Linked DNA regions of Homo sapiens: regions 1, 2, 3 and 5 are each linked to region 4. The links are contacts of gene promoters, found by promoter capture Hi-C in blood cells and fetal thymus (Javierre and others, 2016). All regions are on one chromosome and are shown on one strand. The core of a region is centred on a gene start or on the middle of the fragment in contact, and the rest is flanking DNA. Distances in the headings are between cores, read along the strand shown.

Region 1 (4,370 bases), core at 563-3,062, 420 kb after region 4:
ATAAATGAATGAATGACACCATGTTTCCTAGGAAGCAAAAGCACTTCAATCTTGTGACTATTTTTTAGTCCATAAAACGGATAGATGGTGGAGGACAGAGAACTTCCTGGTGACCTTCTGCTTGCTTCGTCAAGGCATCTATCAAGGGTCCCCATCTTTGAGTATGGTGGCTCAACCACAGTGGACCATCCCAAAGGTCCTCTCTGGTTCTGCATTGCAGACACTCTGTGCATGGTGGTGCGGGACCTCCTTCCTGGAGGTGCTTGCTTCTTCATTTACCCCAGTGTTTCTTAACATTTTGAAGTCTTGTGAGCACCAGAGAAAATGATGAATGCAAGGGGCCCTCCCTCTAAAAAACATGTTAATGCTAATATTTTGCATGCAATTTCAGGGGCTTCCTGGACCCCAAGTTAAGAATCTCTGCTATGGGGCCGGACACGATGGCTCATGTCTGTAATCCCAGCACTTTGGGAGGTTGAGGCGGGTGGATCACTTGAGGTCAGGAGTTTGAGACCAGCCTGGCCAATATGGTGAAACCCCATCTCTACTAAAAATACAAAAGAATTAGTCAGGCGTGGTGGTGGGCGCCTGTAATCCAAGCTGCTCGGGAGGCTGAGGCAGGAGAATCGCTTGAACTGGGGAGGCAGAGGTTGCGGTGAGCCAAGATCGTGCCACTGCACTTCAGCCTGGGCGTCAGACTCTGTCTCAAAAAAATAAAAAAAGAATCTCTGGGCCGGGCGCGGTGGCTCACGCCTGTAATCCCAGCACTTTGGGAGGCCGAGGCGGGTGGATCATGAGGTCAGGAGATCGAGACCATCCTGGTTAACAAGGTGAAACCCCGTCTCTACTAAAAATACAAAAAATTAGCCGGGCGCGGTGGCGGGCGCCTGTAGTCCCAGCTACTCGGGAGGCTGAGGCAGGAGAATGGCGTGAACCCGGGAAGCGGAGCTTGCAGTGAGCCGAGATTGCGCCACTGCAGTCCGCAGTCCGGCCTGGGCGACAGAGCGAGACTCCGTCTCAAAAAAAAAAAAAAAAAAAAAGAATCTCTGCTGTGGAAGATGCTTTTTTTTATTTTTCAAAATTTTTATTAGAGATGGAGGGGCGTCTCGCTATGTTGCCCAGGCTGGAGTCAAATTCCTGGGCTCAAAGGATCTTCCTGCTTCATTCAGCCTCCTGAATAGCTGGGATTACAGTGCATGCCACCATGCTTGGCTTCTCCTGTGGAAGATTCTTGAGGACCAAAAGACATCCTAAACAAGAGTCACATCTCAAACCTTTTTATTGAATTCCTGTTTTTTGTGCATCATGCTGGGTGCTAAGGGATAGTGTAGGGAAAATCTCCAGCCTTCATATCAGTCAGAAGGGAGCCCTGGGGCAGCAGGGCATCTAGTCATCAGCCTCTCAGCTCTCAAGTCACATGTGGGACTGGGATCCGGGTGTTTCCCACCTCCCCAGTAAGCCTGCAACTTTTTCTTCCATCTGGCTCCCATTTTAGAGCCTTGCATATGTTTCTTCAAGGGAAGCCTGGATAATCCTGAATTGCCTCTAATAACCACATTCTTTTTTTTTTTAATTTTTTTTTTTTTTTTTTTTTTTGAGACAGAGTCTCGCTCTCGTTGCCCAGGCTGGAGTGCGGTGGTGGGATCTTAGCTCACTGCAACCTCTGCCTCCTGGGTTCAAATGATTCTCCTGCCCCAGACTCCTGAGCAGCTGGGATTACAGGCACAAGCCACCGCCCCTGGCTAATTTTTGTATTTTTTGTAGAGACAGGGTTTCGCCATGTTGACCAGGCTGGTCTTGAACTCCTGACCTCAGGTGATCCGCCTGCCTCGGACTCCCAAAGTACTGGGATTGCAGGTGTGAGCCACCGCGTCCGGCTGTAACCACATTCTTTAATTCTTGTTTCCAACAGGTATTCCCAGGAAGAACAAAAAGCGGTTCCACTCAGGGTTCTAAGTTCGAAGTTGCCCTCATCTCAACCATCATCAACAAAACGCCAGAATGATTTTCTTCTTCTTTTCGTTAATGGTAAAAATAAGATTTTGCCATTTGTTGGGAGCATACGTATTGAGCACGTTTGGGGAGCTTGTGACTCTGGGTCACAAAATAAGACTGGGTTTTTGGAAATGTGGGTGGATAAGGTGGAGTGAGAGGGGCGGGATAAGCTCATGGCTGGCTGCAAAAGCCTATCCAGGGTTTGTGGAGCTTCTAAAATTTTCTAGATCCCTTTAAAGAAAAATGACATAAAATAGTGAATAAAAATTTCAGCTCAAAAGTGATGTTGTTTCTGACCTATTTTCCTTGTCTCTGAACAAGTTTTTTTTTTTTTGGTTTTTTTTTTTAAATAACATTTCTTACAAGATAGATCTACTGGCTATAAATTACTGATGAATTTTGCCTCAATGCAATTCTCCATTTCCCTCATTCTTTCTGCATTTATGAAATGGAAATCTATATTCTTCCAAAATGCCCCACCATTTTTTGCTTACCTGAAAGTTCTTTATTTCTCTTTCACTTTTGAAGGATAATTTTGATAGGTACAGAATTCTAGGTGTGGGGGCTTTTTCTTTCAACACTAGGTATTTTACTCCACTCTCTTCCTTCTTATGTGGTTCCTGACAAGAAGTTCAACGTAATTCTTTTTTTTTTTTTTTCCCCTGAGACAGGGTTTCACTCTGGTGCCCAAGCTGGAGCACAGTGCCTTAATCTTGACTTACTGTAGCCTCAACCTCCCAGGCTCAAGTGAGCCTTCTGCCTCAGCCTCCCGAGTAGCTGGAACCACAGGCAAACACTGGCAAGCCTTGCTAATATTTCATATTTTTTGTAGAGATGGGGTTTCTCTATGTTGCCCAGGCTGGTCTCAAACTCCTGAGCTCAAGCAGTCCTACTGCCTTGGCCTCCAAAGTGCTGGGATTATAAGTGTGAACCACTGCACCCTGCCCAGTGTAATTCTTATACTAGTGCCTCTATGAGTAGTATGTATATTTTCCTTTGGCTTCTTTCAAAGTTTTTTTTTTTTCTTTTTCTTTTTTTTTTCGAGATGGAGTCTTGCTCTGTTGCCCAGGCTGGAGTGCAGTGGCGTGATCTTGGCTCACTGCAAGCTCTGTCTCCTGGGTTTAAGCAATTCTCCTGCTTCAGCCTCCTGAGTAGCTGGGACTACAGGCACCCATCACCTCGCCCAGCTAATTTTTGTATTTTTAGTAGAGACTGTTTCACCATGTTGGCCAGGCTGGTCTCGAACTCCTGACTTCAAGTGATCAGCCCACCTTGGCCTCCCAAAGCGCTGAGATTACAGGCCTGAGCCACTGTGCCCGGCTTCTTTCAAAGTTTTTATCTTTGATTTTACAAAATTTGAATATGATATGATGAGATATTGACTTCTTTGTATTTATCCTGTTTGGTGTTCTGAGATTCCTGGATCTATGGCTTGGTGTCTGTCAATAATTTTGGTGAGTTATCAGCCATTATTAGTTAAAATATTTCTTCTGCTTCTTTCATTTTTCTCCTTTTAGAATTCCCTTTACGAAGATGTTATACCTTTTGTAATTGTCCCGCCATTTTTTGATATTTTTTTCTGTTTTCCTCAGTCTTTTTTTCTCTTGCTTTTCAGTTTGGGAAGTTCTATTGACATTTTCTCAGGTTCACGGATTTCTTCATCAACCACGTGCAGTCCACTGACGGGTCCATCAAAGGCCTTCTCCGTTTCTGTTACGGCATTTTTTATTTCTAGCATTCCCTTTTGATTCTTAGAGTTTTCACTTCTCTACTTACATCCCATTGGTTCTTGAATCTCATCCACTTTTTCCATTAGAGCCTTTAGCATATTAATCATAGTTATCAGTCTGATAATCATCAAATCTCTGTATATTGCAGTCTGGCTCTGATGCATGCTCTGTCTCTTCATACTGTGGTTTTTGCCCTTTAATATGCTTTGAACATTTTAGGATGAAGATGAGAGAGTTGTTATGTTTCAAAGAAAATAGGTACTGGTTGGGCGCGGTGGCTGACGCCTATAATCCCAGCACTTTGGGAGGCCGAGGTAGGTGGATCACCTGAGGTCAGGAGTTTGAGACCAGCCTGGCCGACACAGTGAAACCCCTTCTCTACTAAATATACAAAAAATTAGCTGGGCGTGGTGGCATGCACCTGTAATCTGAGCTACTTAGGAGGCTGAGGCAGGAGAATGGCTTGAACCCGGGAGATGGAGGTTGCAGTGAGCCGAAGTGGTGCCATTGCACTCCAGCCTGGGCAACAAGAGCCAAACTCCGTTTGGAAAAAAGAGTCTTCTCGTTATTTATCAGTTTGGGACAGGTGCTGAGGAGCGGCCAAGCACTGAAAGAATTTTACTGGCTGTCCCAAGTGGTGTCCCC
Region 2 (4,632 bases), core at 892-3,391, 330 kb after region 4:
TAAAAAAGTGAGTTGACAGGAGCAAAACTGCTAAGTAAATAATGCAAAAGGCAGTGGTGCTCAAATATGGGAAAATAATATGCAGGTGATACCAGAGTCTTGCCTTTGGGAAATGCAGACCCAGGTCCTTTTGTCTTTAGAGCTCACCGGCAATGCGAGGTGTTTCAGGTAGAAGGAACAGCATCAATGGGGTGTTGGCTAGTGTTTAACAGCTGGCTCTCTGAAAAAGCAAAATAAAACACACACACACCAAATCTGATGGTCTGTTTCCATGATGTGAGTACCTCCAGCTGGGCCGAACTGACATCACTGAACACAGTGGAAAGTGATGACTGCAGTTGTCTCTCCTGGGAGCTTCAACACAGTACAGGCTGACAAAAGTGGGCAGGGGGTAAGGGCAGGTGGTGGGAGTGGCCTCTACGCCAGAGAAGGGAATGGAGAGGTCAGGCTGGCTAGAGAGTGGGGTTGAGTCGTCCATGCCCTTGAATGCCAGGATGAGGGCTAAAGAGTCAAATGGAATGGGTGACTTCATATGCAGAAGTTTTTACAAGAGAAGAGAACTCAGTTTGGCCAAGAGAAGTGGGGTCGTCATGTTGGTAATCACGTAACAGTGATCGTTCAGTCATGCGGAATGCTTTCAAGGTGTTGGACACTGTTCATTTTTTATTTTTAGTTTTTGAGGCAGGGTCTCACTCTGTCGCCCAGGCTGGAGTGCAGTGGTGCAATCTTGGCTCACTGCAACCTCTGTCTCCTGGGTTCAAGCGATTCTTCTGCCTCAGCCTCCCTAGTAGCTCGGATTACAGTTGTTTGCCACCACGCCCGGCTAATTTTTGTATTTTTAGTAGAAATGAGGTTTCGCCATGTTGGCCAGACTGGTCTCGAACTCCTGACCTCAAATGATCCACCTGCCTCGGCCTCCCAAAGTGCTGGGATTGCAGGTGTGATCCACCACACCTGGCCGCTTGCAGGGTGTTGGACACTGTGGATATCACCTCATTCATTCTCCTAACAACCCAAGAGAAGAGGAACTGAGGCAAAGAGAAGTTAAGCAAGTTGCCCAAGGCCATACGGCTAGTAAACGGCAGAACGAGGCTCAAACCCAGGCACTCTGGCTCTAGAGTGTGTGTTCCTAACCACTGTGCTCTAGCACCTCGGAACCTTAGTCTCTTCATCTGCAAAATCAGCACTGAGGTGACAAGGCCAACGAGCAGAGGGTTGGAGTTACCCAGAACAACAACAACAACAAAAGTAATAGTAACACATATTTGGTCAAGGCTTAGATTCTGGCGTCATGGGGATCTGGGTTCAAATCCTAATTCTGCCTTAGCCGATTAGGGTCCCTATCCTCTTAAAGCCTTGGTTTCCTTATCTGTAAAATGGGGATATCATGAAGCTGTTAGATGTTAAATGAGAAAATGAATGAGAAAATTGCATGTACTGTCCATAAAGTTGAAAAGATAATAGGGGTGGGAAGGAGAACAGTCCGAGTTTGAATGCAGGTGGGCCCTGGGGCATTGTCTGGACTGAAGGACAAGGGTCAGTTGAATTGCCAAAGAGCTCTGAGACTGGCTGAAGGGACACTCGTCTTGTGCTAGCTGCTAAGACCAAGGGGAAGCCTGTGCCTCGCCCGAATTTTAGTCTTGCAAACAGCTGCTCACCCAGTAGGAGAGAATTGTGATAAAACTCATAGCCACCATTTCTTGAATATCTACTATGCCCCGGGACACAGCAGACTATTTTAGAGAATTTGCGAAGGAAACACAGTGACATCTGTTGGACACCTTGCAAACTACCAGCTCAGGATAGTTAAATTTGAATGTTAGATGGAGGGAACTTCCTTTCCACAATGACATGATTTTGTAAAGCTGAGTGTATGGCAGTTGTCATGATTAAAAGCAAGTGCCATGCAGAAGTTATTGTGTAACAGGAAATGAGATTAGATAGCGTCCAATCTAATCTCAAGGTTTGAGTAGCTGTGGACAGCCCAACAGGCACAGGCCTCCCGTTAGTACATCCATACGAGAAGTTAAGAATGAGTGAAAATAGTTTTTTTTTTTTTAATTTATGTGCATTATTTTTTTCAAGCAGCTACCTTGTTAGGACATACTTAATAGTTATCTTGGCCTACCTACTGCACTTACTAAACAACTGTTCACTTTTTAATTTTTAATTTTCAGATTTTTTTGAGACGGATTGTTACTCTATCGCCCAGGCTGGAGTGCAGTGGCGTGATCTCTGCTCACTGCAACCTCCGCCTCCCGGGTTCAAGCTATTCTCCTGCCTCAGCCTCCTGAGTATCTGGGACTACAGGTGTGCGCCACCACATCCAGCTAATTTTTGTATTTTTAGTAGAGATGGGGTTTTACCATGTTGGCCAGGCTGATCTGGAACTCCTGACCTCAGGTGATCCACCTGCCTCGGTCTCCCAAAGCGCTGGGATTACAGGTATGAGCTACCATGTCCGGCTGTTCCTTTTTTTTTTTTTCTTTTTCTTTTTTTTTTGAGACGGAGTTTCTCTCTGTCACCCAGGCTGGAGTGCAGTGTCATGATCTCAGCTCACTGCAACCTCTGCCTTCTGGGTTCAAGTGATTCTCCTGCCTCAGCCTTCCGACTAGCTGGGATTATAGGTGCCCACTGACAAGCCTGGCTAATTTTTGTATTTTTAGTAGAGACGGGTTTTCACCATGTTGGCCAGGCTGGTCTCGAACTCCTGACCTCAAGTGATCCACCCACTTCGGTCTCCCAAAGTGCTGGGATGACAGGCATGAGCCACTGCGCCCAGCCACTGTTCGCTTTTTTTCTCAGTGGTTCTCTAGTCCATTGCCTTAACCACTCACCATGACTACAGCTCTTATTTGCAGTGACTCTCAAGAATGCAAATGCAAATGCCATTCCTGACCTCGAGTTAATTCAGCTTTGTCCCCTGAGCATGGGGGAAAGGCAGGCTGGGGGCTGGAACTTTCTGCTTGTGTACCTATCTCTTTAGACTCTGGAGGCTCCTCCCCAATCTCTGTCATTCCCTCTCCAACCAAATCCACCTGCCGTCCCAGACTCAAATGCTCAGCCACCTAACTGCCTGAGGACCCAGCAGTTAATGAGTTTACATGCTGGGGGCAGGAGTCAGGGCCAACACTCCTTGGTTCCTCTGGCTCCCTGGAAAGGGAAAGTCACCAAGAGGCAGCTGCAGGCAGCAAAGAGAATAAGCAGGAGAACCTCAAAGCCACAAAGGGACAGCACACAGCATCTTCCCTGTTTAGCCTGGACTTGAGAATGCTGTCCCCAGCAGTAAGCTGCTCAACCTCAAAGCAACTTGCACGGGGGTTTACAAAAAAATGCACTTGGCCGGGCACGGTGGCTCACGCCTATAATCCCAACAGTTTGGGAGGCCGAGGTGGGTGGATCTTTTGAGGCCAGGAGTTTGAGACCAGCCTGGCAAACATGGTGAAACCCTGTCTCTACCAAAAATACAAAAATTAGCCAGGCATGGTGGTGTGTGCCTGTAGTCCCAGCTACTCAGGAGGCTAAGGTAGGAGGATTGCTCGAACCCAGGAGGCAGAGGTTACAGTGAGCTGAGATCGCACCACTGTACTCCAGCCTGGGTGACAAAGTGAGGCTCTGTCTCAAAAATAAAAATAAAACATAAATGCACTGGAGGAAAGAGGGTACCACTCTCCTTAAGGCGGGGGCTGCCAACTTGTCCTGCACAGCCCGTCCGCCTGCCTCAGGTGGACTTAAAGCCCAGCTCTGAGGGACTCTGAGCAGTCATTTAACCTCTCTGAGCCTCTCTTTCCTCCCCTGCAGAAGGGGGATTATAACAGTTCCTAATTCATGAGTTGTTCTTGGAGTGAAATACATTACTGGCCAGGTGAGATGGCTCATGCCTGTAATCCCAACACTTTGGGAGGCTGAGGTGAGAGGATTGCTTGAGCCCAGGAGTTCGAGACCAGCCTGGGCAACAAAGCAAGACCCCCATCTCTAAGAAAAGTAAATAAATAGGCAGGGTGCAGTGGCTCACCCCTGTAATCCCAGCACCTTGGGAGGACGAGGTGGGCAGATGGCTTGGGCTCAGGAGTTTGAGACCAGCCTGGGCAATGTGGCAAACTCTTGTCTCTACTAAAAAATACAAAAATTAGCGAGGCATGGTGGCACACGCTTGTAGTCCCAGCTATTGGAGAGGCTGAGGTGGGAGGATCACGGGAGCCCCAGAAGCATAGGTTGCAGTTTGCCAAGATTGTGCCACTGCACTCCAGCTCGGGCGACAGAAGGAGACCCTGTCTCAAAAAACAAACAAAAAAGATAAATATATAAATGAAGCTGGGCATGATGGTGCGTACCTGTAGTTCCAGCTACTTGGGATGCTGAGGTGGGAGGATTGCTTGAAGCCAGGAGTTCTAGGCTGAAGTGAGCTATGATCATGCCAGCCTGGGTGACAGAGTAAGAATCTGGCTCTTAAAAAAATAAAAAGTAAAATGGAACAGGTGAAGTTATTTTCTTTAATTTTTAAAATAAAAAGTTATTTTTATAAATAAAATTTTAATTTAAACCAAATTATTTTAAACTAAATATAACATTATATTTGTATAATATATAAATAATATTTTAATTAAATCTAATTTAAAATTATTCTAAATG
Region 3 (4,594 bases), core at 2,095-4,594, 480 kb after region 4:
AAAGAAAAAAAAATTCTCGTAGCCAAGGAGGACGCATTAATTGTGCTCAGGAATAATTGCCACATCAGATACAAAGTGAGAAGCCACGTTATGAAGGGACACAAAGATGCTAGATTAGCCAAGACTCTTGGTCAAAAGTGATATGTATGCCTGCTCCAATTGGCTTAAGCAATAAAGGGAGGTTATTGGCTCCTAAATCTAGTGAGGTTTCAGGTATGGCTTGATCAGTGTGTTCAAATGATGTCATCAGAAATCCCTCCATCATTACCCTCTGCCTCTGGTTTTCTCTGAGTCAACTTAATTCCCTGCTGGCATGACGGCCACCAAGAGCTTTAGGCTTATGTCCTGCCAGCTTAGCAACTCCAACTCAAAGAGCACCACTTTTTCAATGATTTTAGCCAAAATTCCAAGACTTGTCTCAGACCAACCTGAATCATGTGCCTGCTCTTGAACAAAGCACAGTAGCCAGGGAAAAATTGTGCTTTGATTATCTAGGACTGGATCCTGGACCTGCCCCTGGGACTTGCGGAAGGGGACAGCTCAATCTGAGCCATATCAACTGAGAACACAGGAAGCATGGTCCTACCAAGAGATGTCTATTCCAGGTATGGTGGAGCCTCAGAGGACAGCATGACTCTCGTTCAGCTGGTGGATCAGGGAATGGTCCAATAAGCCACAGCTGTGGATATGAAGGTCTGTTGATTTCAGATTGAGCTATAGGGGGATACTGGGCATGGCAGAAAAATCTATCAATCTCTGCTATAGTTAAATATTTGAATATTGGATTGTTTGCAGATCTTGTGAAATCAGTGACCTCTGGGTCATGTAGAAACCCAGCACATTCCCACAGGACACAGCCTAGCAGTTGATCAGAGCAGTAGTTCATACCTGAGACCCTGGATTTTCAGACCCTCCCCCAGGCCCCACCAGCCTCTGTCAGTGCCAAGCTGGACGGAACAAACCACATGAGGTTGGTCAGGCCTCTACCCCATGGAAAAACACAGAATGGTGATTTTTTGCCTGTACATTCCTGGACAAATAAATTCTCTTTTGGGAGCTTTTTCCTGGCTGGGCTATGTTATATGCCTCAGAGCTGCCCAGATCCCCTGGAAACCCAAAGATTTCCTTCCATGTGTAGGACTCATTCAGCCCCAGCTCAGAGGACTGTTTCATGGGTACTGGTGGCAGGAATTCTTGGTTGTCTTCAATGTCTGGCTCCCTGATTTTCGGTAGGGAACATGGTCAGCAGAATGAGGATGGCATTTCCTACCTTCTACTGCAGGTAGGTGTGACCATGTGACTACGCTCTGGCCAATGACCTGCAAGTGGCAGTGACAGATCCCATCCTTCAAGGGAGGAACATGCCTTCTCTTTCTCCTTTCCTCTTTCTTCCAGGCTTTTAATTTTTTATTGATTTATTGATTTTGAAAAATGGAGTCTTGCTCTGTCACCCAGGCTGGAGTGTAGTAGTGCAATCTCCGCTCATTGCAACCTCCACCTCCTGGGTTCAAGCAATTCTCCTGCTTCAGCTTCCCAAATAGCTGGGATTATAGGCACGTGCCACCACGCCCAGCTAATTTTTTGTATTTTTAGTAAAGATGAGGTTTCACCATGTTGGCCAGGCTGGTCTCGAACTCCTGACCTCAGGTGATCCACCTGCCTCAGCCTCCTAAAGTGCTTCCAGCCTTTTTAGAATTCAGTTCTGGTGGGAACCATTTTGGATCATGCTGATGAAGGTAACACCATAGAGATGGCAGAGCTGGGGTTGGGTCTGGTGACTCACGCTTGTAATCTTACCACTCTGGGAGGCCGAGGTGGGAGGATTGCTTGAGCCCAGGAGTTTGAGACCAGCCTGGGCAACATAGTGAAACCTCATCTCTACAAATAAACTCTTGGCTAAAGCAATCCTCCCACCTCAGGCTCCCAAGTAGCTAGGCTACAAGCACACACCACCATGCCTAATTAAAAAAAATTTTTTTTTGTAGAGACAGGGTCTCGCTATGTTGCCCAGGCTGGTCTTGAACTCTTGGCCTCAAGTGATCCTCCTGCCTTGGCCTCCCAAATTGCTGGGATTACAGGCATGAGCCGCTACACATGGCTCATATTCTCAATAGAGCAGTCCCAATTGGCCACTGACCAGCCAATAGTCTTGCTCTCCTGGGCAGATGTTCACCCTGGTCCAATAAGCCACAGCTATGGATATGAAGGTCTGTGATCTCAAATTGAGCTAGAGGGGGAAGATGGGCATGGCAGAAAAATCTATCAATCTCTGCTACAATTAAATATCTGAGGTCAGACATGGTGGTTCACGCCTAGAAACCTAGCACTTTGGGAGGCTGAGGTGGGTGGATCACGAGGTCAGGAGTTCAAGACCAGCCTGAACAAGATGGTGAAACCCTGTCTCTACTAAAAATACAAAAATTAGCTGGGCATGGTGGCAGGCACCTGTAATCCCAGCTACTCGGGAGGCTGAGGCAGAGAATTGCTTGAACCCAGGAGATGGAGGTTGCAGTGAGCCGAAATCGTGCCATTGCACTCCAGCCTGAGCGACAGAGCGAGATTCTGTCTCAAAAAAAAAAAAAATTGAATATTGGATTATTGAAACTTGGCATAGAGCAGCCACTGTCCTTGTCTTCTAAGAGCTTATATCATATTATTATTTTATTATTATTAATAACATATCATTATTAATTAATAGCTGCAGTTCACTGAACAGTATTAGATACCAGGCATGGTGCTTGTAATTAGTCATCTCATTGAATTCCCTTAATGAAAATTAGGTAGTCAGAGACCTTTCTTCATGGATCGCAACCCCAGGGGCATGTGGGATTTCAGAGATGTGTTTTGGGGAAAGAGGTATAATTATTCAACTTTCAGTTAATTAGCCACTTAGAGAAATTAAGTGGTAGGTGGAGTTGTAAAGGAAGGCAAAGTACTGGGCAGGCAGATGCTAAGTGGGCGACTGTTCTAGGCATAAGAGAAATGGGGGTGGGTATGAAAAAAAGCAAGAGAAAGAGAGAGAGAGAGAGAGAGACAAGGGAAATTTGGTTTGACTGGATAAAAAGGCCAGTGAAAAGAGGGAGTTTTGGTAAGAGCTATGCCATGGGCAGGGAGAAGTACAGAGATCTTCAATCATGGACTCTATCGCCATCCCCTCTTCTCTTCCTGCAGGTGGGCAGAACCAAGGTGCCCTCCCTACACCTTCCTGGGGCCTCCAGCGATCCTGAGCTCAGCCTCCTGACCTGCAGACCCCTCAGCTCTGGCCCTCACGTCCTGCTTGCTGTACCTGCTTTATCCCATATCACCATCTCCATTCCTCAGCATAGTGACAATCCCAGTTCCTACCCATTCCACTGGCTTCTCCATTTGGCTTGGAGCTCTTTAGCTGGATTGAGACGACTACTCTGATGAGTGCCATGTCACTGGCTCAACAAAATGGGCCCAAGTGAGTCAATGTCATTGACATGAAGGTGCTGTCAGTTTGGTGGGAACCAAGGGAATGAGACTGTGTTTTAGCTGCGTTCGTTTGAACAGTTACACACTTAGGGCTTCTTATGCGGATGCTCAGAGAGAAATATGGAAGACGAGATCTCGTAGAAAACAAGAAGACATGTTGTAAATGAGTCAGGCCTCCTGGAGTCCAGGACTAGGGAGGAACTCTTTATTGAGGATCACTCGAGGGAGTCTTGGGGCTGGTGGTCTTCACGCCACAGCCCCATAACTCAGCTCCTCTCTTCCTTCTCTCAGTCTCTCTGCTTCTGTTTTTTGTCTCATGTCCTAAATGTCCAACTATTCAGCATAACTTTATTCTGCTTCCCCTCTCTATCCTCTGTAGCAAAATGCACTGTTGGAATTACATTTTTATTTTTATTTTTATTTTTATTTTTTTAAGACGGAGTCTCACTCATTGCCTAGGCTGGAATGCAGCGGTGTGATCTCGGCTCACTGCAACCTCCACCTCCAAGGTTCAAGTGATCCCCTTGCCTCAGCCTCCTGAGTAGCTGGAACTACAGATGCCTAACACCATGCCCAGTTAATTTTTATATTTTTAGTAGAGATGGGATTTCACCATGTTGGCCAAGGTGGTCTCGAACCCCTGACCTCAGATGATCTGTCTGCCTTGGCCTCCCAAAATGCTGGGATTACAGGCATGAGCCAATGTGCCCAGCTGGAATTAAATTAATAATTTTTATTTCTGCTTTAGCGAGAGAGGCGGTGACTCACTGATACAAGGAAGATATTTCCCCTTCCAAGGGTGATGTATTCAGCTTTTGGGTTTAAAAGGAGATGCTATCAGGCACGCGTGGCTATCCTGGCAGATTACATAAAAATACAGAAGAAATGTTCTTTGTGTTAAAAGAATAAAAAAGAAAAAACAAAACGTGTTTCCTCAAAAACTTAAATACAGAATTACCACATGACCCAGCAATTCTACTACTGGCTATATCCCCCCAAAGAATTGAAGGCAGGAACATGAATAGGAATTTGTAGAACCATGTTTATACCAGCATTATCCACAGTAGCCAAAAAGTGGAAAGAAACTAAATGTTCATCTACGGATTAACAGACAAACAAAATGTGGAATATCTGTACA
Region 4 (4,643 bases), core at 1,042-3,541:
TTTATTTACTCTAGTAATCATAGGTAACATAATCAGATTCTTCAGTTTTTCAAAAACTAGTTGGTGACCGAGGTCTTGCCCAAAAATATTTAGGGCATTTCAGAAAGGTTACCAACAGTGGCACAGCAGGGATTTAGAATACCCAGCAGTCCTCTGCCTCTCATTGGCTCCTGAGGGTTTCTGATAAGGTTCTTTATCTCCTGTGATTTATATTGAATGTGCCTTTGTTTTTAATCCTGCCAAACACTGATTATTCTGAGGGCTGGAGCAGGTAAGACATTGACTGACCTCGAACTCAAAGGGTGGACTCATTACACCCTGCATATCCCAGAGGACCCTGCAATGAGCCTTCAGGGCTGCAACGCCCCAGGCTGCTTCAGGATTTGGGCTTTAGGAACCTGAGTGGCTTTGATATGGCAATTCAGTCCCTTAAGGGTAGCTGATCTGGGGAACAATTTGCCACACTTTCCTAGTTTACTTTAGCCTCTGGGCAGTTGCTTTCCCAGCCCATCCATTTTCCTTAATTCCTTGCCTATGGATAAGTAAAAGAGGCACACAGGGCCCAGCGCGGTGGCTCACGCCTGTAATCCCAGCATTTTGGGAGGCCAAGGCGGGCAGATCATGAGGTCAGGAGATCGAGACCATCCTGGCTAACATGGTGAGACCCCATCTCTACTAAAAATACAAAAAATTAGCTGGGTGTGGTGGCGGGTGCCTGTAATCCCAGCTACTCGGGAGGCTGAGGCAGGAGAATCGCTTGAACCTGGGGGGCAGAGGTTGCAGTGAGCCGAGATCGTGCCACTGCACTCCAGCCTGGTGACAGAGCAACACTCTGTAAAGAAGCAGACAGTGCAGAGAAGGATGAACTCTTGGCATGAGTGAAGTGTAATATCGGCAATCTGTTTGTGTACCCTTCTTTTTTTTTTTTTTTTTTTTTTTTTTTGAGACAGGGTCTCACTCTGTTGCCCAGGCTGGAGTGTAGTGACCCAATCTCGGCTCACTGCAACTTTCACTTCCCGGGTTCAAGTTATTCTCATGCCTACAAGTGGCTGGGATTACAGGCGCCCACCACCACGCCTGGCTAATTTTTGTATTTTTAGTAGAGACAGGGTTTCACCATGTTGGCCAGGCTGGTCTCGAACTCCTGACCTCAAGTGATCCGCCGGTCTTGGCCTCCCAAAGTGCTGGGATTACAGGTGCGAGCCACTGTGCCCGGCCTCGTGTATCCTTTTAATGAGGCCGAGCGGTGACAAGACTGTGGATGGCATTGGGGCCAGGGACCAGAACAGGGAGAGCCTGGGAGGAACCCCTCCAGCCCCCCGCAAAGCTCAAGCACCGGATACTAAAGAAGAATGGTAGATGGGGCCTCACGATGTGCAGGGGGAAGGGAACTGGCTTAACTGGATGGTCCCCTGTCCGAGCACTGGGCTAGGCCTTTTGTGTGCATAGTATCGTCTGCTGTTACCAAGAAATTAGTTATGCTTATCATCTGCATTTTACAGAAGAGGAGAACAAGGCTCAGAGAGGTTGATGACACCTGCCCAAGTTACCCAGATGGTAGGTGGCAGAGCTGGGATTTGAGATTCAGATAAGGCCTGGGACGCTCCCTGGCTGCCCACCGAGAGCAGGAATTTCTGTAGCATCTAGAAAGGCAGGAAGGTGAAAGAGGGGACAAGAGCTGGAGGGGGAGCAAATGGGTCCTACCTGAGACTTACCATCATCAGGTGCTGCCAGACCTGGCTTCTCTTCTATTCTGAGAACTGATATCCTGTGGCTGACTTACCAGGGTCGTCCTAGTCCCCCCGCACGGTATTGGGAGTGGAGGCAGCCCCACACGGAGGCGCTGGGAGACTTTCCTCCCAGCAGTGTCCTGTCACTGCATTCCGGCCCCTGCGTTTGTAGGCAGTGATGTCACAGAGTGCCTTCATGCTCCTCGGGTCTCCGGTTCTCCCCGGACCTCTGTAGTCCTCATTGCCAAAGTTGTACCCCCTGGGGAGTGCACCCTGCCTGCATTTCTGGAGGTTCGGGCGGTTCCGGGGCTCTGCAGGAGCCTCCAGGCGTGATAAAGAGCGCTGCCGGCACTCCCGGGGTCTCGGCCTCTTTGGGGCCCATTGCCAAGCCCCTTCCCTCCTCGTGCTCCCGCTCCGCGTTGCAGCGTCCCCTTCGCCGCCAGGGGCCGCCCGGAAGCGGGGCTCCCCCAGGGCGGGGCGGGGCAAGGGGCGGGGCGCGGCGGTACCTGGGCCGCCAGGGAGCCGGGGGTGGGCTCTCCGGGGACAGCCGGCAGCGCCCCCAGATCTGCACCGCCAGCCGCCGGGAGCTCCGGGCTCCGGGCGTAGAGGCTGCGCTGTCACATGGGCGGCGGCGACGGGGCCGCATTTAAGCGGCCGGGGGACGGCGCCCGCCTCCAGCGCGTCCTCGGGCTTGGCTCCCGCCGGGAGCCCCGTTCTCTGCCCGCCGGGGGCCCCGCGCCGCGCCGCACCGCGCCGCCCCCGCCGGGCCATGCGAGCGCGGGCCCCGCCGCGATGAGCTCGCACATCGCCAAAAGCGAGTCCAAGACGTCGCTGCTGAAGGCGGCGGCGGCGGCGGCGAGCGGGGGCAGCCGGGCTCCCCGCCACGGCCCTGCCCGGGACCCGGGGCTGCCTAGCCGCCGGCTACCCGGCTCCTGCCCGGCGACGCCGCAGTCGTCCGGGGACCCCAGTTCGCGGAGGCCCCTGTGCCGGCCGGCGCCGCGAGAGGAGGGCGCGCGGGGGAGCCAGCGTGTGCTCCCCCAGGCGCACTGCAGGCCCCGGGAGGCGCTGCCGGCCGCGGCGTCCCGACCTTCGCCGTCGTCGCCGCTGCCGCCGGCCCGCGGGCGGGATGGGGAGGAACGGGGACTGTCCCCGGCGCTCGGCCTCCGGGGCTCTCTGCGAGCCCGGGGCCGCGGGGACTCCGTTCCAGCCGCCGCGTCCGAGGCGGACCCGTTCCTCCACCGGCTGCGCCCCATGCTCAGCTCCGCCTTTGGCCAGGTAAGGGCCGCGCCTCCCGTCAGCGCTCCCGGGAAAGGCGCTCGGGACCCTGCCGGCCGCGGTTGCGCGTCCACAGCCTCCTCCCGCGGCCCGTGGTCCCCCACGGATCACGCCTCGGCTCACCTCGTCCTCCCCGGGCCGGCGCCCTTGCCGGCACTCCTCCTCCCCGTGCCTGATTCAGCACCCCGTGCGCTGTCCACGCTCCGGGCCTCTTGGGGCAAGGCCCTCCCCGCTAGCCTCCCTCATACCCGCCAGAACCCGCCAGTCCTGGAAGAGAGCGACCTCTACGACCGTCCTGGAGATTTGCGGGGGTCAAGGAGGGGCGCTCCGAGCAGGTGGCGCCAAACCCACTCCTCTGGCCTCTGGCCAGTACCGCCAGGGAGGGACTCAGGAGAGCAAGCGGTTTGGAGTCTGGGGGTCAAGAGAGGGGACCTCAGAGAACACAGAATTACTTGAGGGCGAGGGACACTGGCCACTGCCTATCATGTCCCTGAAGGCCTGAGAAAAGTTAGGAGATCCAAAAATATGAGGAAAGAGAAGAGGTGTCTGGGTAGGCATGGAGGGGCATGCAGAGCTGTGGCTCAAACTGGAACTTTGGGGTGGTTTAAGGAGGCTGTCACTCTAGGGATGCCATTGGAAGGGTGAGAAAGGCCACAAAGAGGTCATCAGTGGTTCCCTCAGGCCTTTCCCTCAAGAGTCCCAGGCACCTGGGAGCCTGCCCTTTAAAAGCAGCTCCGTAGTCACAATATAGGTCTACAGTTTGAGGCTGTGCTGCTGGGGAAACAGGCTCAGTAGAAGGAAACCTCTGAACTCCTGAGCAAAAAAGCCAGGGTTTCCCCTAGTTCGGAGTCTGTAATCAAGTCAAACTCATTGGCACAGCTTTGAGACAGTTCTGTGGCAGCCTCCGAGAGGTGTCATGCAGAGGTCTGATTAGAGCGTTTGCGTGGTTTGTAGGGAAACAGGGGGGGCTGTGCCTTTCTGTGCTGAGATCTAGCATAAAGAAGCTGTTTCAAGCTCCTGGCTTGCCACGCCGGATCAGAATTCCAAGGAGGCCCTGTGTGTTTTGCTTCAGATCTGCACATTTCTTTTCAAAATACTACTCGGCAGTGGCTGATGCTGGTGGAGGTCTGACATGAAGGCAGCCGCACATGGATTTGGGTTGCGTGGTGCTGCTGTGGTGGGGCCATAGGGCAGTGGTGTGTGGCTTTGTTCCTGCAGGGAGCCCTCGTTAGCCGAGTTAGCTGGAAACAGTTCTCTGGAGTAGAGATGTGGATGCAGAGCCGTGAGAGTTAGTGAGGCGATGTGTCAGGGGAGTTCACTGCAGTGCTTTGTGTTAATGAGGAGGTGTAGGCTGCCAGGGCACGAGTGGTCTTTGGATTGGGGCTGGGTTGCAGCAGGAATGCTGGGTTGTTGAATGGGTGATACCAATTCATTCATTTATCAATTATTTCTTGAGCATTTATTAAGGAAACCTTCAGGGGTTTCCTTAGTTCCTGTGGTTTGTTTGTTCAGACATTTGCTAGACACCAGGAAGACAACAGTGAACCAGATAGCCAGGGCCCTGGCTGTACCTAGCAGTTTGGAAGGGTAGGTCATTGGCCTAGAATCATACACTTTCTGGTTACTCAGTTTGCAGCT
Region 5 (4,774 bases), core at 1,085-3,584, 270 kb before region 4:
CCTCCATCCCCCAGCCCCTAAATCTCAGCTTCCTCAGCACTGCAGAAGCCATCAGTGCATTCTGAGGACAGGGGATGGTAGCAGAACAGGCAGCTTGATGGCAGATAATCACCAAAAACAATAGGCCACTGTCTCTCCATTTCCAGGCTTGGGTCACTCAGGCTGCGCCAAGAAGATCCTTTCAGAGCCGGCAAAGTTGAGGCCTGGCCTCATTTGCTCATTACTGCGAGCGGGAGCGGGAGCCACTGGGCAGAGATAACAGGAGCTGGGGACAGGCGGTAATTTGACAAATTCTTGGGCACAAGCAGCTATTGTTGCAGGTAAACGGGAGCCAGGGACTGACCCAAGCAGAGAGGCCCAAGGCTGGGGGACAGCAGGGAAGCATGGAGAGAAGAGATCCACACTATCCCTGCCCCCAGCAGACAGACACCCCCATCACATGGGAGTAACCCCCTCCTCTGACTTTTCTACTTTTCCATCTGCCCTGGAGCCAGCGCCCCCTGCAGGGTCTAAGACACGAAGGAGCTGTGGGACAACAGCAAAATGTTCCATGAGTTTGAATGCCAACCAAGCAGCTTCTCCTAAGATCTAGTCTTCCGAAGGGTCGTTTCCAGGCAAGCTAGAGCCTTTCTCATAAATCCCCTCCGTGGGCAAAGCAGGTCCCTGTCTTCCACACAAAGCAAGGAGCTCATTGACCAAAAGTCGGGGGAGGAGGGAAGGAGAGAGGGAGGGGGCTTCAAGGGATGCTTTGCCATTGGTCTGGATGAAGAGGGGGTGTCGCAGAGCCAAATACTAGTTAGAGTTCACAGAAGCCACCGGGTGGGTCAGTGCTACCCTGACTCACCCAATTTGGGCTGGGGGAGGGACCTAGCCCCACCCCAAGCTCTGCTCTGAGGCATCATGATTAGTACTTCTAGGGAGAGGGTGGCGGCTGCCTCTCCCCTCACCAGGACTAGGGGAGGGGGGATGTAGCATCTCATGGCAGGCCAGGGATTTTTCTCCTCCCTCTCCCCCCCAACTCTAGTGACAAAGTTTCAGAGCATGGCAGCCCTCTTACTCAGAAAAACTCCCTCCTTCCTCATGGACCCCGTCCAGCTGTCCCCTGGGGAGAGTCCTGACCCTCTCCTCCGGCAGCCTCCCTCTCCCAAAGGACCCCCGAAGCCCCGAGGGCCACTCACTGTTTTGGAGTCGAGCTCGTGCCGCGATTGCGCCAGCACTTTATCCACCCCCGCCTGGTCCATGAAAGTGACGAAGCCGAAACCCCTGCGCGCCGTAGTGAGGGAGAGGCAGATGGTTACAAGGCAGTGAGTGGCGGGTGGAGGGGGGCGAGCCGGGAGCAGGAGGAGGGGGTGAGGGGCTCACCTGGATCTCTTGGTCAGGGGGTCCCGCATCACCAGACACTCCTTCACCTCCCCGAACTGGCCGAAGTATTCGCGCAGCCCTTCTGTAACCACACACCCGCCTTCGGACCAGCCCGGGCCCCGCGCCCTTCCCCCCCCCCCGTCCTTTGCCCCCGGTGACCCCGGAGCGGCCCGGCCGCCCCCGCGCCAAGCTGCCCGCGCGTTCTCCACTGCCGCCGCCCCCCACCGCCCTCGCCCCGTTCCCGCTGAGCCTCCTGGCGCCCACCGGGGCCCCGGGAAGCCGAGGGCCGAGCTGGGCTGGAAGGGGGACGGCTCCGGCCGGGTTCCCGCCGCTCCGGGAGCAGCCTCACAAAAGTTTGAGCCGCAGGTGCGAGCGGAGTTGGCGCTGCCGCCGGCGGGTCCCGGGGGCCCAGCCCACCCCCCGATACCCCCTGAACCCCTCATCTGCTCCCCTCCACCCGCTGGGCCGGGTGCGCTCGCGGATCGCCCTGCGCTCTCGGGGTCTCCGGGCGGGGCGCGAAAGAGGGCGCGAGGGCGCCCGGGGTCAGCAGGGCGCAGGGCCGGGCTGGGGTGTCCGGGTCCGGGGCGCCGGGGGGTCCGGGGTGCCCTGCCGGACCGGCGGGCGCTCCCGGGCTCGCTCACCCTGCGTAGTCTGCCAACTGAGTCCCCCGATGAACATCTTGCTGCGGGAGGAGGAGAGACACAAAGGGCCCGCGTGAGCGCCGGGCGCCAGGGCGCAGGGGGCGCGGGCCCGGGCTCCGGGGAGGCCCGGCCGGACCCGGATCGGCCATGTTGGCGGGGCCGGGGCGGGCGCGGGCCAAGCAGGCCGGGCCGGGCCGTACCAGGGGTCGTGCGGCGAGTCCGGGGAGGCGAGGCCGGGCTGGGGCGCGTCAGTCTCCATCGGGAGCCGCGGGCGGCGCGGGCAGCGGAGCGGCGGCGGCGGCGGCGGCGGCGGCGCTCGGCGCGGGGCAGATGAGGAGCGCGGCGAAGGGGGCCGGACGGACAGGCCATGCTGCCCCCTCCCCCGACCCCGCTCGGGCGGGCGGGCGGGGACGGCCGAGGGGAGGGCCCGCCGGGGGCCGACCTGCCGGCTCCTCCCCCCGCCGCCCTGCGCGCATAAAGCCCCGCGCTCGCCCGCGAGCCCGGGCGCCCGCGGAGGCGGCGGCGCCGGGACCCCCTTCCCGCGGGGCTCCTGGGTCTCCGGGGCCGAGCGAGACCCCCGAATCCCGGTGCGGGCCGGGACCAGGGCGCGGCCGCACCCCCCACCCACCCCGGCGCGGGGGCCCGGCCGCGGGAACGCCCTCCCGGAATGAAGCGCTTCCCGGTGCCTTCAAGGTAGCTCGGTTCCGGATCGGGAACCCCCCCGGTCTTCCCTCTCAGGTCCCTGCTGTCCAGAATTGAAGAGAACCCCAATCTCCTCGGGTCGGGCGGGAGATAGCCCTAGTGCTCCCCAGTCCCCACATGCTCCATTTCCCCAGTCGGAGCGAGAAGCCGCCCTCAGAGCCCCCAGTTTCCTCCCAACCTAATTTACAGCCCCCCACCCCCACCCCAGGGCTCTAATTTAGAGCCCTCGCTCCGTTCCCAGGATCCCATATCCAGTTTGGGGGACCCACTCAGTGCCTCGCGTCCCGAGTGGGGAACCTCCATCAGCACCCCAGTAGAAACCGTATCCTCTTCCCCAATCCGTCCTCAGCCCTTGGTGTCCAAAGTGAGAGTCCCCCTTAGTTTCCCCAAATCCCTGCCGTCCACATTAGTGGACCCTATGGTCTGTTGAGAAAATCCCGCGCCCCAAGCCCGGGTTCTCAGTTTGCCGCCACCCCCACCTCCCGGTGTGAGGAGTCTCCCCTGGTTCTCTCCCTCCCTGGCCGGTTTTTGTGAGATCCATTCAGACTCCTGTCCTGATTCGGGAAACCCGGTTCCAGACACTCACCACCCCCACCACACCGAGGCTGGAGGAAAAGGCAGTGCCTCTTAGAGCCTCCTGTTTCCAGTTTAGGAGCCCAACGCCTCAGCTGTGCACCGTCCCCTCCGAATGACCCCCTTCTTTTGCAGAGGTCTAAGCTCCACCCCATCCCATTGGAAGAGCCTAAACTACCTACCCACTGCATTTGGAATGACTTCCCTCAGTCCCTCTTATTTTGAGGCTACTCCCCGTGAAGGCAAACACCTTCCTTTCTACCCCCATCTTCTGGGTCTCTGGGATCCCCCAGTACTTGCACCCAAGGCTCCTTGGAGTCACCTTACGTACCCCTAAAATTCCCTCCCTCCAGCCTGGGAACAACCCTGAGAAAGTATTCTGGTTCACCAGGGGAGCTGCGGGGCCACTCTCCTTATCCCCACCTCTCCTTATCCCCGCCTCTCCATATCCCCACCTCTCCATATTCCCACCTCTCCATATCCAAGCCTTAGGACCCTTCACTTCCCCAGCTGAAACCAGCCAAAAAAGGATCAAACCAGGAAGCTTAGGTGGCCAACACCCCTTCTCCCCATCCCTGCTGGGGGTCTCAGTGCCACACAAGCCCCTCCCTCCCAACTCACCTTCTACTCCTTCCCCCATCCCTACCTTAATCCATCCGGTGTAATCCAGTGACAACCCATGTTGACAAGCCCTTTGCTGTTCACCTTCACATTCCATCCTGAATTCAACACCTTTTATTCCTGGGCATCATAACTCTGACCTCTGGAAGGGTGCCCATCCCCCTCTTGATAGCCCTCCTTCCCTCTCCCCACCCCAACCATCAGGCAGAGAAGAAAGTGAGAGACTTACAGTAATGGTTTCCTTGGGGACCTTCTGGGAATGCTCAGCAGGTATATCCTGCCACCCTGTGAGCATAACACTAGAAACAAACTTGCTTTTTCCTGTTTGTGTCCCCTACTCTGCCCCACAGTTTCTCAGCATCCCCTGGACTGGGGACTGGAGGGCCACCCACACAAGGCATTTCTTACCATTCCGACACAAAAGCATTCCAGTTTGTGTTGTAGCAGAGACACAGATGAGGGTGAGCAGGTAGCCTCTGCGGTATTAGGGAGGTGACTCTTCTTAGGTCTGAACTTAAAAAGGGTCATTGGAGAGGTGCGGGGAGTAGGGATCTTCCAGTGTTCCTGGACTTTGGTTTGTGTGCTGGTGCTGCTGGGCAGATGAGCTTGAAGGATAGGAAATGGGTCCTTTCCGGCAGTGGCGACCTACCCACGAGAACATGCCTCTCGACAGGGATCTCCTTCATCCTTCTCCAGAAGAGAAGAGGAAACAGAAGAAGAAACGCCTGGTGCAGAGTCCCGATTCCTACTTCATGGATATGACATGCCCAGGATGCTATAAAATCACCATGGTCTGTAGCCATGCACAAACGGTAGTTTTGTGTGTTGCCTGCTCCACTGTTCTCTGCCAGCCTACAGGAGGAAAAGGAAGGCTA

The links. The method cuts DNA at HindIII sites, captures the fragments that hold promoters and counts their contacts. A CHiCAGO score of 5 or more calls a contact.
Region 1: a fragment that was not itself captured here is called in contact with the fragment with the promoter of CABP1 in region 4 in 1 of 17 cell types (naive B cells); the score reaches 5.4 in naive B cells.
Region 2: the fragment with the promoter of HNF1A-AS1 here is called in contact with the fragment with the promoter of CABP1 in region 4 in 2 of 17 cell types (erythroblasts and monocytes); the score reaches 7.0 in erythroblasts.
Region 3: a contact is called between a fragment that was not itself captured here and the fragment with the promoter of CABP1 in region 4, in 1 of 17 cell types (naive CD8 T cells). The highest score is 5.1, in naive CD8 T cells.
Region 5: a contact is called between the fragment with the promoter of MSI1 here and the fragment with the promoter of CABP1 in region 4, in 1 of 17 cell types (total CD8 T cells). The highest score is 5.2, in total CD8 T cells.

Annotation. Positions count from the first base shown.
Region 1 is chr12:121,062,958-121,067,327 of GRCh38, forward strand. The region is part of intron 3 of LOC105378258 (a long non-coding RNA gene); the gene reads right to left. Among named protein-coding and RNA genes, the nearest start is that of OASL, 26 kb to the left of the region's middle. The HindIII fragment of the contact is 6,035 bases long and covers 1-4,370 here.
Region 2 is chr12:120,970,151-120,974,782 of GRCh38, forward strand. HNF1A-AS1 (HNF1A antisense RNA 1) reads right to left here and starts at 2,142. Exons shown (of 1, transcript NR_024345.1): 1 at 1-2,142. RefSeq lists an enhancer at 2,735-3,262. The HindIII fragment of the contact is 11,110 bases long and covers 1-4,632 here.
Region 3 is chr12:121,116,278-121,120,871 of GRCh38, forward strand. It overlaps LOC105370030 (a long non-coding RNA gene), which reads left to right. Exons shown (of 3, transcript XR_007063494.1): 2 at 496-605; 3 at 3,172-3,429. Among named protein-coding and RNA genes, the nearest start is that of P2RX7, 14 kb to the right of the region's middle. The HindIII fragment of the contact is 9,656 bases long and covers 1-4,594 here.
Region 4 is chr12:120,638,335-120,642,977 of GRCh38, forward strand. It overlaps CABP1 (calcium binding protein 1), which reads left to right and starts at 2,292. Exons shown (of 6, transcript NM_001033677.2): 1 at 2,292-3,005. The coding sequence starts at 2,352. It overlaps CABP1-DT (CABP1 divergent transcript), which reads right to left and starts at 2,188. Exons shown (of 2, transcript NR_183426.1): 1 at 1,716-2,188. RefSeq lists an enhancer at 179-680 and silencers at 2,152-2,451, 2,672-2,771, 2,782-2,951, 3,172-3,271. The HindIII fragment of the contact is 19,814 bases long and covers 1-4,643 here.
Region 5 is chr12:120,366,830-120,371,603 of GRCh38, forward strand. It overlaps MSI1 (musashi RNA binding protein 1), which reads right to left and starts at 2,335. Exons shown (of 15, transcript NM_002442.4): 1 at 2,204-2,335; 2 at 2,004-2,044; 3 at 1,363-1,444; 4 at 1,179-1,263. The coding sequence starts at 2,262. It also overlaps the pseudogene RPS27P25. The HindIII fragment of the contact is 14,859 bases long and covers 1-3,820 here.